Linked DNA regions of Homo sapiens: region 1 is linked to region 2. The links are contacts of gene promoters, found by promoter capture Hi-C in human tissues and cell types (Jung and others, 2019). All regions are on one chromosome and are shown on one strand. Each heading gives the region's core, a stretch centred on a gene start or on the middle of the fragment in contact. The rest is flanking DNA. Distances are from core to core; before and after follow the strand shown.

Evidence for each region. Contacts are between HindIII fragments. The study calls those that stand out against the background at their distance.
Region 1: a contact is called between a fragment that was not itself captured here and the fragment with the promoter of ICOS in region 2, in 1 of the 25 tissues and cell types used here (psoas muscle).

What each region holds. Positions count from the first base shown.
Region 1 is chr2:203,872,533-203,878,366 of GRCh38, reverse strand. CTLA4 (cytotoxic T-lymphocyte associated protein 4) reads right to left here. Exons shown (of 4, transcript NM_005214.5): 4 at 4,402-5,659. The coding sequence ends at 5,555. Among named protein-coding and RNA genes, the nearest start is that of CTLA4, 7.7 kb to the right of the region's middle. The HindIII fragment of the contact is 3,747 bases long and covers 2,237-5,834 here.
Region 2 is chr2:203,935,399-203,941,209 of GRCh38, reverse strand. ICOS (inducible T cell costimulator) reads right to left here and starts at 4,447. Exons shown (of 5, transcript NM_012092.4): 1 at 4,338-4,447. The coding sequence starts at 4,395. It overlaps LOC101927840 (a long non-coding RNA gene), which reads left to right and starts at 452. Exons shown (of 4, transcript XR_427213.4): 1 at 452-693; 2 at 3,822-3,893; 3 at 5,009-5,102. The HindIII fragment of the contact is 7,273 bases long and covers 1-5,811 here.

The DNA.
Region 1 (5,834 bases), core at 2,861-5,360, 63 kb after region 2:
AATAGATAGTATTACTTTGTGTGATTAATACCATGTTTCTGAAACACTGTTAGTTGCTATAGTAACTTGACTGTGTGTGATTAAAAGAGCATGTATCATCTCAATGGGTTGTTCCACGACTTCCAGTGGCAATAGGAGCTTTCTCAGTGTACTGCCGGCTTTGCTGACAGACTGTTTATTGGCAGCGTTTTGCTTTGTGTTGTCCGCCTGCAGCATTTTTCTGTAGGATTGCTAAGAACAGGCTGGGTCACCTGAGATGCTTCTCCTAAGTCCTCTGGAAGGGTACAGGAGAAAGAGAAAAGATGAAGCCAACATTGGAGCAGCAACAGTGGTGATAATCACACCGAGATGTAACAGGAGTACTTGGGATGGAGATGGATGGAAAAGTGGGTTTTCTGTGGGTGGCCTGGAGTGGTAGCAGGGACGTCCTAGAAGCAGCCTGGAAAGGACAGCCCCTGGTCAGAAAGGTGCACAGTGCCACCCTCTGCAGAGCCCTGATGTGAAAACCTGGAGATCTGACTTCTTAGCCTAGTTCAAGTCCTGCCTCGCCATAGGACCTTGGACAAGGTCCCTAAAGTCTCCGAGCCTTATGTTCTTCTAAAATCTGAGGATCATTTCCAATATCCTTTGCTAATCATCTATGATGGTAGAATCCTGAGTTAGATCAGAGCTTATGAACTATGGCCTAAAGGCTCTCTGAAGAATTAAAATCCCCAGGCCCTGCCTCAGACCTTATAAGTGAGAAGTTCTGGTTCAGAGGAACTTCAATCTGCACTTTTTCCAAATGCTTCAGATGATTATTGTACGAAATAAATGCAAGAACATAGAGTGTGCCCATGAAAGCAGATTTCCAAGAAGGGTCTGAATGTCAAGTTCCTTGCAATATGCAGCAGGATGGGTTAACTTCCTCTAAGAAAATTGCTTAGAAGAGAAATAGCTACCTCTTCTGCAGGTCTCATTAGCTTCCAGTGACATAGCATCAATCCCACATGTGCCTGGAAGTGAGAACAGGAGATTGTGTTACAGTTGGAACAGTGGTCACAGTCTCAAGTTGTTCTTGCTCAGAAACTTCTGAAGAGGGGTCTCTAGTACACTTTTCTTTTCTTTTTCTTTTTCTTTTTTTTTTTTCTGAGATGGAGCCTTGCCCTGTCACCCAGGCTGGAGTACAGTGGCGTGATCTTGCTCACTGCAACCTCTGCCTCCCGGTTCAAGCGATTCTCCTGCCTCAGCCTCCCGAATAGCTGGGACTACAGGCACCTGCCACCATACCCGGCTAATTTTCATATTTTTAGTAGACACAGGGTTTCACCATGTTGGCCAGGCTGGTCTCAAACTCCTGACCTCAAGTGATTTGTCCACCTCAGCTCTTAAAGTGCTGGGATTACAGGTGTGAGCCACTGCACCCAGCCTCTAGTACACTTTTTATTCACACTGCATTAGAAGCATAAGCTTTCCTGCTGATAGCGTTGTCAGATAAAATACAGGGCATCCTGTTTTCTTGTTTTTGTGGCGTTTTTTGGTTGAATCTGGCAAACTTACCATGAGCCCCTATCCCAGCATGTAGCCAAGGAAACATAAAAGAGGAAAGAATAAATTTTCCTCCCTTTTTACCAATAGGGTGTGTCATGTTTCTGGACTGAACAGAAAAAATTGACCTGAGATGAGAAAAAATATATATATATGAAATAAAACAAGGTTTCTAAGGAGCCTGAGTCATGGCTCTAACCAGGTGCAAACAACAAGTAAGGCAATGGGAATAACTTTCCGGAGAAAGCCATGTTCTCCTTTGCTTTGAGAACTCCCAAAAGAATAACTAAATTTATAAAGTCTTGAACTTCTCAACTGGCTTTGCTCCAGTTAACAACACAGTGACATCAATGTTTCACGAGCTCAGTCCCAACTAAGTTGAATGAACTATTAACTGTGGATACGGAAGAAGGCTCAGACTGGGTATAAAAATATAGTCAATTTTAGCAACAACCAACAATTCAAAAGAGAAAAAGAATAAAAATAAGAATTCAACAAAGAAAGAAAAAGATTGGAAGTAAGACTGGATTAAGATCAAAGTAGAATGAGTGGGACAGAGTAGGCAGCTGGAACTCACAGTCCAGAGTCTTTAAGGTTTAAGCCAAAAGATGAGTAGACCTGCACAAAGTTCTGATGATCAAATGGGAAAGAGATTAAGCTGGGACTGCCTAAGAAAACACAGATGGGTTCTGTATGGAAAACGGTCCTGGATGTCCTAGTTCCCCAACTCCTCAATTCATTTATTGGAGCATCTACTGTGTGCCTAAAGTTGTGATTATCCCTGTCTTGGAGAAGTTCCTGATCTAACTAGGTAGAAAAGACATGCATGCTTGAAATTATTAGAGGTGAAACCAAGTATAGCTATGAAACAAAAGAGGAGAAATCCACGAGCTTAAAGTGTCAGCAAATCTGACGGTGGAGGCAAAATTTGGGATTAGTCTTGATGGGTGTGACAATGAAGGATTATAATATTTGGAGGTGAGAAATGAAGAAATGGGAAGTAGCAGGAATGCGAGTACCATGCTGAAGAAGAGACATGAGCAGAGGCGTGTGCTAGGAGCCATGTTGGAGGAGGAACTGACTCTGGAGCCCCTGGCCACTCTATCCGGCTCCCTTGTCATCCACAGTCTTGCCTGTGACAAGTGGTTCCAAGGAGGAGGGTTGCAACGCCCAGGCTCCCCCTGCATGGTAGGCCAAGCCCCTTTTGGGTTCATGGATTATTTGGGCTTGGAGCTGCCCCAGGACCCTGATCCCAGAAATGGAGATGATGATGAAGGTTGGAATCCCATGTGACAGTTGGTCCTCTGATTTGGGGGCAGTTCACCTCTCTGAGTACTACAGACATAGAATCTTCTCTCATAAATGACATGGGAATTAGAAGAGGCTTTCATTTGGTGCCCAGATGCACTCCCTTACCCTCATATTTGCTTTCTCCCCTTTCAGCGGAACCCCGGGTCATAGTCTTTCTTGTACAATTCTTCTGCCATAGGGGAAGCTTTTTTGAGCTAAAGGGTATTTTATTTTTATAAGATTGAGACTGAATGAAGAGGGCAAGTCTTATCTCAGTGAACAACAAATGGTAGAATTTTAGGCAATAGCAGAGGAAATATTAAGCTTATATAAAGTAGTCCATTATCTAAGGGTGTCTGAAAGGTACCTGGAGGGCATCACTTGTGTAAGGCACTCTCTGTCACTCAGATCTGCCCATCAACTATGAAAAAGAGTAATCTCTCTAAAGATGTTTAGAGGAGTGGAAATGATATACTATCCACTGAGGCTCCTGATTGGTGTTTTTCTTCATGGCTACCATCCAAAGGCCTAGAGAGCAAGAAGCACAGTCTTCCACAGAAAAGGAGCTCATTCTAGGTAATAATCATTACCTTACTTTGAAAGACCTATTCGTTTTTTTTTAACAACCCCTTTTGAAATGCTTACTATGTGCTGTCTTGTGTGTTTGTTAGCACTTGCTGGGGCAAGAAAGAGAGAAAGAGAGCAAGAGCAAGCAAGAGAATGAGCAAGGGGGAGAGACAGAGGAAGAGACACAGACAGAGTTGCCTAAGCAGTGATTCTCAAAACTTGATGGGTATAAGAAGCACTGGGAAGATTTTTGGAAATACAAACTCCTGGCCCCACCACTCAAAGATTCTGATTCAACGCATCTGGGAATAAGTGTGAATTGGTGTTTTTAGTAAGTGACCCAGTGGATTCAGTTACAGGTGGTCCCTGACCACACTGAGAATCACTGCAAAAGACAATAACAGGATGTGGAGGTCAAAAATAGGAAACCTTAAGTGGAAACCAAATGTGCTGAGACTATACATTGGTTAAGCAAGAATCACAGAGGGCTTAGTGTGCCAGGCCTAGGTGTGCCAGCTGATAGCAACATAGGACCACAGGTGTGTGTTTTCCCCACATTTGCAAAATAGTTCATTTGGAAGCCACAGGGAAAAGCTCTATATTTCAGGAAGGCAGATCAAAATGGCTGCAAGGGACGTGGTTGCCAACATTGGGGTTGCCATGACAACTGTAATGCCTGTGATAGTTGAGCTGAGAAAGCAGGCGGTAAGAAAGGGGAGGTGAAGAACCTGTGTTAAACAGCATGCCAATTGATTTATAAAGGACTGCTATGTCTGTGTTAACCCACGTTATATCCCAAATAGTGGTGAAGAAATCAAAAGGAAAGAGGATGGATACCTTCCAAGAATGACTTGCAGGTAATGGCTGGTGCAAAGCTGACTCATGAAGCATTATTTGTCCTTTTGTGGTTTTTCAGTTTGTTTCCAGTATTTCTAATATTGGAGACTCCACCAGATACTGAATGAATCAATCAAAAATTTGAACACAATATTCAAATGCAAGGATGATAAAGACAACTCCGGAAAACGACCACCACAGATTTTTATTTAATTAAAAATATTATACATGTTGTTGCATTTTCATGGAAAATATTGAGTTAAAAACACAAGCAGTGTTAATTTTCAGAAACCTTCATGCACCCCATTCTGCCACCTGCTGCCTTCTTCTGTCCATGGCATTAACCACATGTTTGTAAGAATTGGGCCCATCGAACTGGAGCTTCCTAGAAGGTCATACCTGTGGGTCTCCTGGAGTAAGCCATTGTCTTCAAGACAGTGTTCTGTCAAGTCAACTCAGATACCACCAGCTGTGGCTTCCTTGCAAACCATTGAAAGGAACTGGTGTAAAAGCCCCAAAGCACATGTCAACACCAACTCAGCACAATTCCACGCAATCAAGCACTGCTATGACCTCATCCAGTTTCCAAGCTAGTTAGCAAATGACCTTGTGTTCTACCTGGTGTATTAGTGTCCTGAGCTCCTCCACAAAACTTCCCTGGGACCCAAGGTGGAAAGACACTGCCATATAGTGTTTATATTCAAACCATTAACAAATACACAAAAACATACGTGGCTCTATGCACAATACTATCAAATTAAAATATATATATATATATATATATATATATATATATATATATATATATATATATATATGTATATATGCAATACAACCTTTAGCATCACTGGCTAAAACATAGCCATGTGAGTATTTTTGAAGCCTTGATGTAATCATACATTTGTTTAAGAAATAAAAGGCATAAAATTTAACTTGAAAAGATCATTTCGGCTATAAACGTCTCATACGTAAATATAAGGTGTGTACAATATAGTCTTCTCCCTCGCTCCCTGCCTTTTCCTTCTTTGGGCTGTGCCATTCCCTAACTTAATTCCTTGACCCACATCATAATGCTGCATCCCCATATTAATCCCAAGTGATGCTTTCACTGAAAGTGGAGCTGATGTGACAGAAACATCCCAGCTCTGTCTTTCTACTCCTTTGCTTTAAATTGTAGTACACGTAATTTGGGTTCCGCATCCAACTTTATATTAAAGAGAGATGAATTCCCCCCAAATGCACAAACAAATAAAAATAGCTGGATAGCAAAAAAGTTAGAATTGCCTCAGCTCTTGGAAATTGAAATATGGACTCTCTTCTTCATAATGGTTTCTCAATTGATGGGAATAAAATAAGGCTGAAATTGCTTTTCACATTCTGGCTCTGTTGGGGGCATTTTCACATAGACCCCTGTTGTAAGAGGGCTTCTTTTCTTTAGCTGTCAAACACAAAAAGAAACAGTAATTACTACTGAGGAATACGGAAGCCACTTCTAACCATAATAGAACTCAACACATATTGGGTCCCTAGCTGGTTAAAAATGAATGTTCACAGCATACAGAATTATAAACCTCAGGAGATTTTCTTGATTCAGCTATTAAAATTTATTTTAG
Region 2 (5,811 bases), core at 3,198-5,697:
GTATGATTAAACAAATACTAGGAAAAAAATGACTGAAATGAAGAATAAAGCTTGAGTCTAGAGATTGAAAACTTTCACCCAGTCTTAAAAAAAATAATAATAAATTAATAGAACAGCGGGGCGCGGTGGCTCACGCCTGTAATCCCAGCACTTTGGGAGGCGGAGGCGGAGGCGGAGGTGGGCGGATCACGAGGTCAGGAAATTGAGACCATCCTGGCTAACACGGTGAAACCCCGTCTCTACGAAAAATACAAAAAAATTAGCCAGGCGTGGTGGCGGGTGCCTGTAGTCTCACCTACTTGGGAGGCTGAGGCAGGAGAATCGCTTCAACCCGGGAGGTGGAGGTTGCAGTAAGCCGAGATTGCGCCACTGCACTCCAGCCTGGGCGACAGAGTGAGACTCCGCCTCAAAAAAAAAATTAATAGAAACACACAGAAAGAGAAACAGAGGGAGAGAGTTACACATATCCTGGAGGAATTCCTGAATTCCAATACTGAAGTAAATAGCTTTCAAGATTATGAAATTCTAGAGTTTTTTTTTTTTTTACAAAGGAATGAGAGTTAGACTACCATCAAACTCTTCACCCACAACCCTAGAAGCCAGCAGACAGTGGAGGAATATCTGCAACCACTAAGAAGAAAGGCTGCCATCCAGGACTCCTATTCCCAGGAAAGATATCAGTCACTCATCAAGGTAAAAGGAAGACACCCTTACCTGTACTGGAATTCAGAGAGTTGGGGGTATTTAACGAAAATAAGAGAAGTCTTCTGATCATTAGATTAGAACAGAGATCACAAGACAGGAGCAGATGTCCAGAATGATGTTGTCATTGAACGTATGTGATGTAAGTGTTAAGAAAGGATTCTTGAAACAGAAGAGAAATACTGTAAGAGGAAACCTAGCAATGATCTGCAACTGTAAGTTTTAAATTATTTCCACAAAACCCACGTATGGAGCAGGGTGCACTGTCTGGGGGAAGTGTGAGAGTGGGAAAGGAAGAACATTCTTAAGTTCTCATATCAGTGCAGGGGATGGGGACTAGGCACATCAGACAAAGGCATTTTCATTATTTTCATACAATGATAAACAAGTAGACATTCAATTAAGATTCTTTGAACATGTCAATTACTTAGTAAATTAAGAACTGTAGTCGACCTTCCAAATTAACCGGAGGCAAAGAGGAGAGTCAAAAGAAATTTCATCACACCAACAAAAATAAAAGAGAAAAAGAGGATACAACAAAGAAAAATAAGTAGTAAATAAACATAGAAATAAAATCAAGTAGAGGCTTATGCTGACTGGGAATGGCCTGAATTCATCTATCAAAAGAAAAAATTGACAACTGGGATTTTTGTTAAATCTAACAAGAACACTCTGGAAGGGGGTGCTGTCAGGAGATGACATTTACTCAGTCGTGGAGAGGCTAAGAGGGGCTCCAAGGTCAGTCATCTTCACAGACTTCTCTCAGACGCTGGAGACACTGAGGGGCTCTTTTCCCAAGTGGAATTCAGGAGTCACTAATGGAATGCCTCAGTGACAAAGGAAGGCTCAAAGTGGCCTTGAGGGCTATCCTCCCAGCTTCCTCACAGAACACATCATAATACATGCACGTTTATTAGACACCCTCTGCCATCAGCCCTTCCCAATCTGGTGTATTATCCACACTGCTTTTAAAGTAGTCTTTCTAAAACCAGAATTTGTCCCATCACTCATATGGTCCCTGTTGCCTATAAGGTCTACAAAGAGGGTCTTCAAAATGTAGTTAGACATTCACATTTTTCGTAGATATTTTTATAATTAAAAGTGTCCTATTGCTCCAAGTTCATTAAAAAAAAACAAGACTTTGTTAAATTCTACATTGAGATCCATCAAAGACTAGAAATCAGCAAGATTCCCATCCTTCTTAATTCACAACCAAATAACAAAGGTGATCAGAATCATTGAGATTTACGTTCCTTTAGATTTATGTTACACCTCCACTACTTCAACACAGTTTAGAAAGAATGTAGATGTTGGAGTCACATTAGAGTTCTAACTTTGGTTCTGCCACCAACTACTGTGTAACAAATCACTTAACCTTTCCTGGTTGGAAATTCTTCAAACACTGACTAAAGGTAAGAATGCCTACATCTTCATGGCATGAGAAAGCCTATGTAAATTGGGAGGATTGAAAATACAACAGAGGACAAGCAAGTACTTAGTTTACTTGAGTTTGGCTCTTTTTCTTTAGAGCTTTTACATGGCAGTTTCTGGATACATGCATTGTGGAGATATTTTAAATAGGATCATTGCTAGCAGATTTATTGTTACCATTTAGCCACTCGTGCCTCAGGTTTGCCACATGCCAAACAGCATGCCACATCTCATGGCTTTCTTTATAATGAGAGTGAACATTGGTTGTATTCATTTAGAATCTACGATGAATATTGTTCCAGAATACAAATTATTCGTCAGCTTAATCTGGAAACTTAAAACAATCCTACCTAAGGCTGGATCTCACCTTCCACAGAATTGACACCGATGCTACTTTAATTCTCCTGAGCATAATACCACAACCAGAACTGCCCAAATTGGTTTGGCCTAGTTGAATGATTTTTATCAATACAAACAAACCCTTCCACGAATGGTACCAACGTTCTTGGAAGAATATCCAAAATCTGGAACATAGACTATATGGTCTGAATGGTCTGGCCTCTACTTTCCTTTCCAGCCTCACCTTGGACCAACTTGGACCAGTTGGTCATCTTGGACCAAGCTCAGCCTCTTCCCTCTTTGTGCTCAGGCACATCTGTCTGCTTTCTTCTAGTTCCCTAACCTTACCTCATTCCTTCCTGCCACAGGCTCTTTGCACTTGTTCCTTCCATGGTATGGAACGTTCTTCCCTACCTTCATACCGTTCTCCCCATTGATTGCTACCTTGTCCTTGAAATCTCCGCTCAAGTGCCACTTGCACAGGAAAGACTTCAATGAACCCTGCTCCTCAGCTACACCTCCACACCCACCCAGTCTAGTCAAGCTCCTTGTTACATTCCCTCATATAATTGAGTTTTGCCTGTAATTATCATTAATCAATGGGATTATTTGATTAATATATCTCTCTCTACCATGCAGTTACCTTCCAAAGAACAGGGGTTGACCTGGTTTTGCTCATCCTTGTACATACACCATCTGGCACAGTACCTGCTACCAGGCAGGTGCTCAATGCTACATGAGTAAATGGATGAATGAAGAATGAATATAAATTCCAAAGCTGCTCATGTCATTCATGCCGCTAAAGGACTTCATGAGATTCTAGAAAAGGCATAAACCAGCAAGTAGCCCAAAACTGTCCTTGTGCTCATTCTACATTCCTCAATCCTCTTAACTGCACTTAACTCACTTTGAGCCAGCACAAGATGAAACATTTGATCAATTTGATTTCATTTTTTTTTCATTTTTTGTAAGAACAGTAAGGTCTATTTTTTTGCCACTGAAAAAATGTATCCCTAGATAGGATCATACCTACTAAAAGTTCTGCCTTCACTTTTAGTTTATTTGATTATTTAAGTTATTTAATATTACTTAACTTTCCTTTTTTCAACCTCAAGAATAGGGCTCAGTGTGAAAGAGAAAACAAAAGTAGTACAAATTATATACAGTAAAAAGCAGCAGAAACACGTGTATTAACTTACATTGTATGTAGCATTATTTAAATTGTCCATATAGAGTCTGCTATATGCCATTCAAGAGAAGGAATCAGGGACTCCAGAATGATCTTTTTTGTAAGGTCTACAGGGGCTAGGAAGTATTTTTACATTATCCTTTCCTCCTTGGCTTTTTAGGGTGAACTCTGATACTTAGTGTCAATAAAAACTCTATGGTGCCCTGGACATTTCAGATAACAGATCATCCAGGTAAGATTAAAATCAAAATCCTTCTTTTCAAAGACTTCCCATTTTATTTTCTACCACAGAAAGAATTCCCAGTCCAAATGCCAGAGCTATTTAATTTTCATTCTGTTGACACAAGTCATTTTGCCTTTCATCTTTCTCTAAGAACAGTAAGCCACTCTGCTAGTTTATCCACTGACAGGTAACTCCAAGCAGGTAATTTAAAAATTTAATGGTCTGATGAAACATGTTTTTCATCTCAAGACACAGTATCAAAGGCAGCAATGCAAACTCAATGCCATCCACAGTGACATGAGTGACATGGTGCCCTTGGCCATATCCTGAAACTATTCCTACTTTCAAAAACCAAAACCACTGTCTTTTGGGTGCGTAATTTTTCTACCTTTGCTTTTTCTTAATGTTTACTTGAATTATAACTTAATAAGAAATATTCAATACACCACTTACCTGTTAAAACTTTAATGCGCAAGCAGAAGAGAAAGAAATACCAGAGGCCTGACTTCATGTTTGCCAGAAACAGTTAACAGTCCTCGCGTTCAGTGTTCAAAGCTGACAGTGAATTCAGGCTCTCGGTTGTTTTCTATTTGCTGGAAAGGAAGTGGGTTTTCTGGGAGTTTATGTAGTGTCACGCTTACCATCAAATCAAGGGGGTGTTTCTTCTTTGATGCCAATGGCTATATGAAAGGCATTATTGCTTATGACATGAGTTAAACAATGCATGGATTATTGATGATTTTGAAGACAGAGGAAAACATTACCCTTATTCTGGTTCCTATAAAACAAGTTAAAGAGATTATGCCTGTATTTTTCAGAACCACCCTACTTCTCTGAATCAATAGTTATGGGGGTTAACAGGACCTAAAAATACTCACATGATGAATAAAACATATATTTTGACACATTTCTATCTTATGCTAGGTGCTCCAGAGATAAGAAAGCCTTTGAAATAGGACAAGAAACAAACAAAATTATTATAGAAATTGAAGTGAAAAGATCTGAAAGAAGAGCATCATAGGAATCTGAGAAATGATATTTATGTGGCATTCATTGTAGATTGCAATGTTTCAAATGATGGGGTCAGTTTTAAACTAACTTAAACCCTGCTCCTCATATTACAGCAGAGTCTGTAGGAACCAGGGATTCCTCACCTACGGCTCAGTGAGACCAAGAATGTTTAAAAGCCTGCCGTGGTCTCCCCATCCCTGCAGGGAGGTAAAGTAGACAATAACAACAATAACAATAATAATTACATAGATAATTATATGTATATGTACTTAAATGTTTTATATGAAATAATATATCTTAATGCAAAATGTAAAAAATTAAATGTAATATATTTTATATATAAAATATACCTATTTTTATATATGAATATAGCTAATATTACATTTATATTATGTTTTATATGCATGTAAATGGTTACTGTTTGTATATATATTTACATTATAACTATAGTTTATACATACATTAACTCATTTAATCTTCTTAATCATCCCAATGGTGACCACTAATCTCCCATTTTACAGATGAGGAAAACTGAGGCACAGACAGGTAACGAACCTGGCCCAAGTCATATAGTAAGTGTCAGTGCTATGATTTAGAGAGTCTGGCTCCAGAGTCCTCACTCTTAACCGAAGCAGGTAGAACCACCAATACCAAGGCCTGCTGATCCCTCCATCCAGAAGTCTGAACGCGCTTCCAAGATGCTAGATCCAGGCTGGACTTCCCTTAGCCTGCAGAAATGACATTTAGATGAGAAGCTGAAATCAGCTGGCCAGGGAAACCAAGGTGTGAGTCCAAAAGGTCCAGGCTCTGAAACAGATTCCAGGTTTGGGGCTTTAGGCCAGCCACTAGGAATGCCAGACCACAGCCAAGGGGTCTGCAAGGTAAGGAGGAGGCTGATCCTGCAGGGATCCCCCTA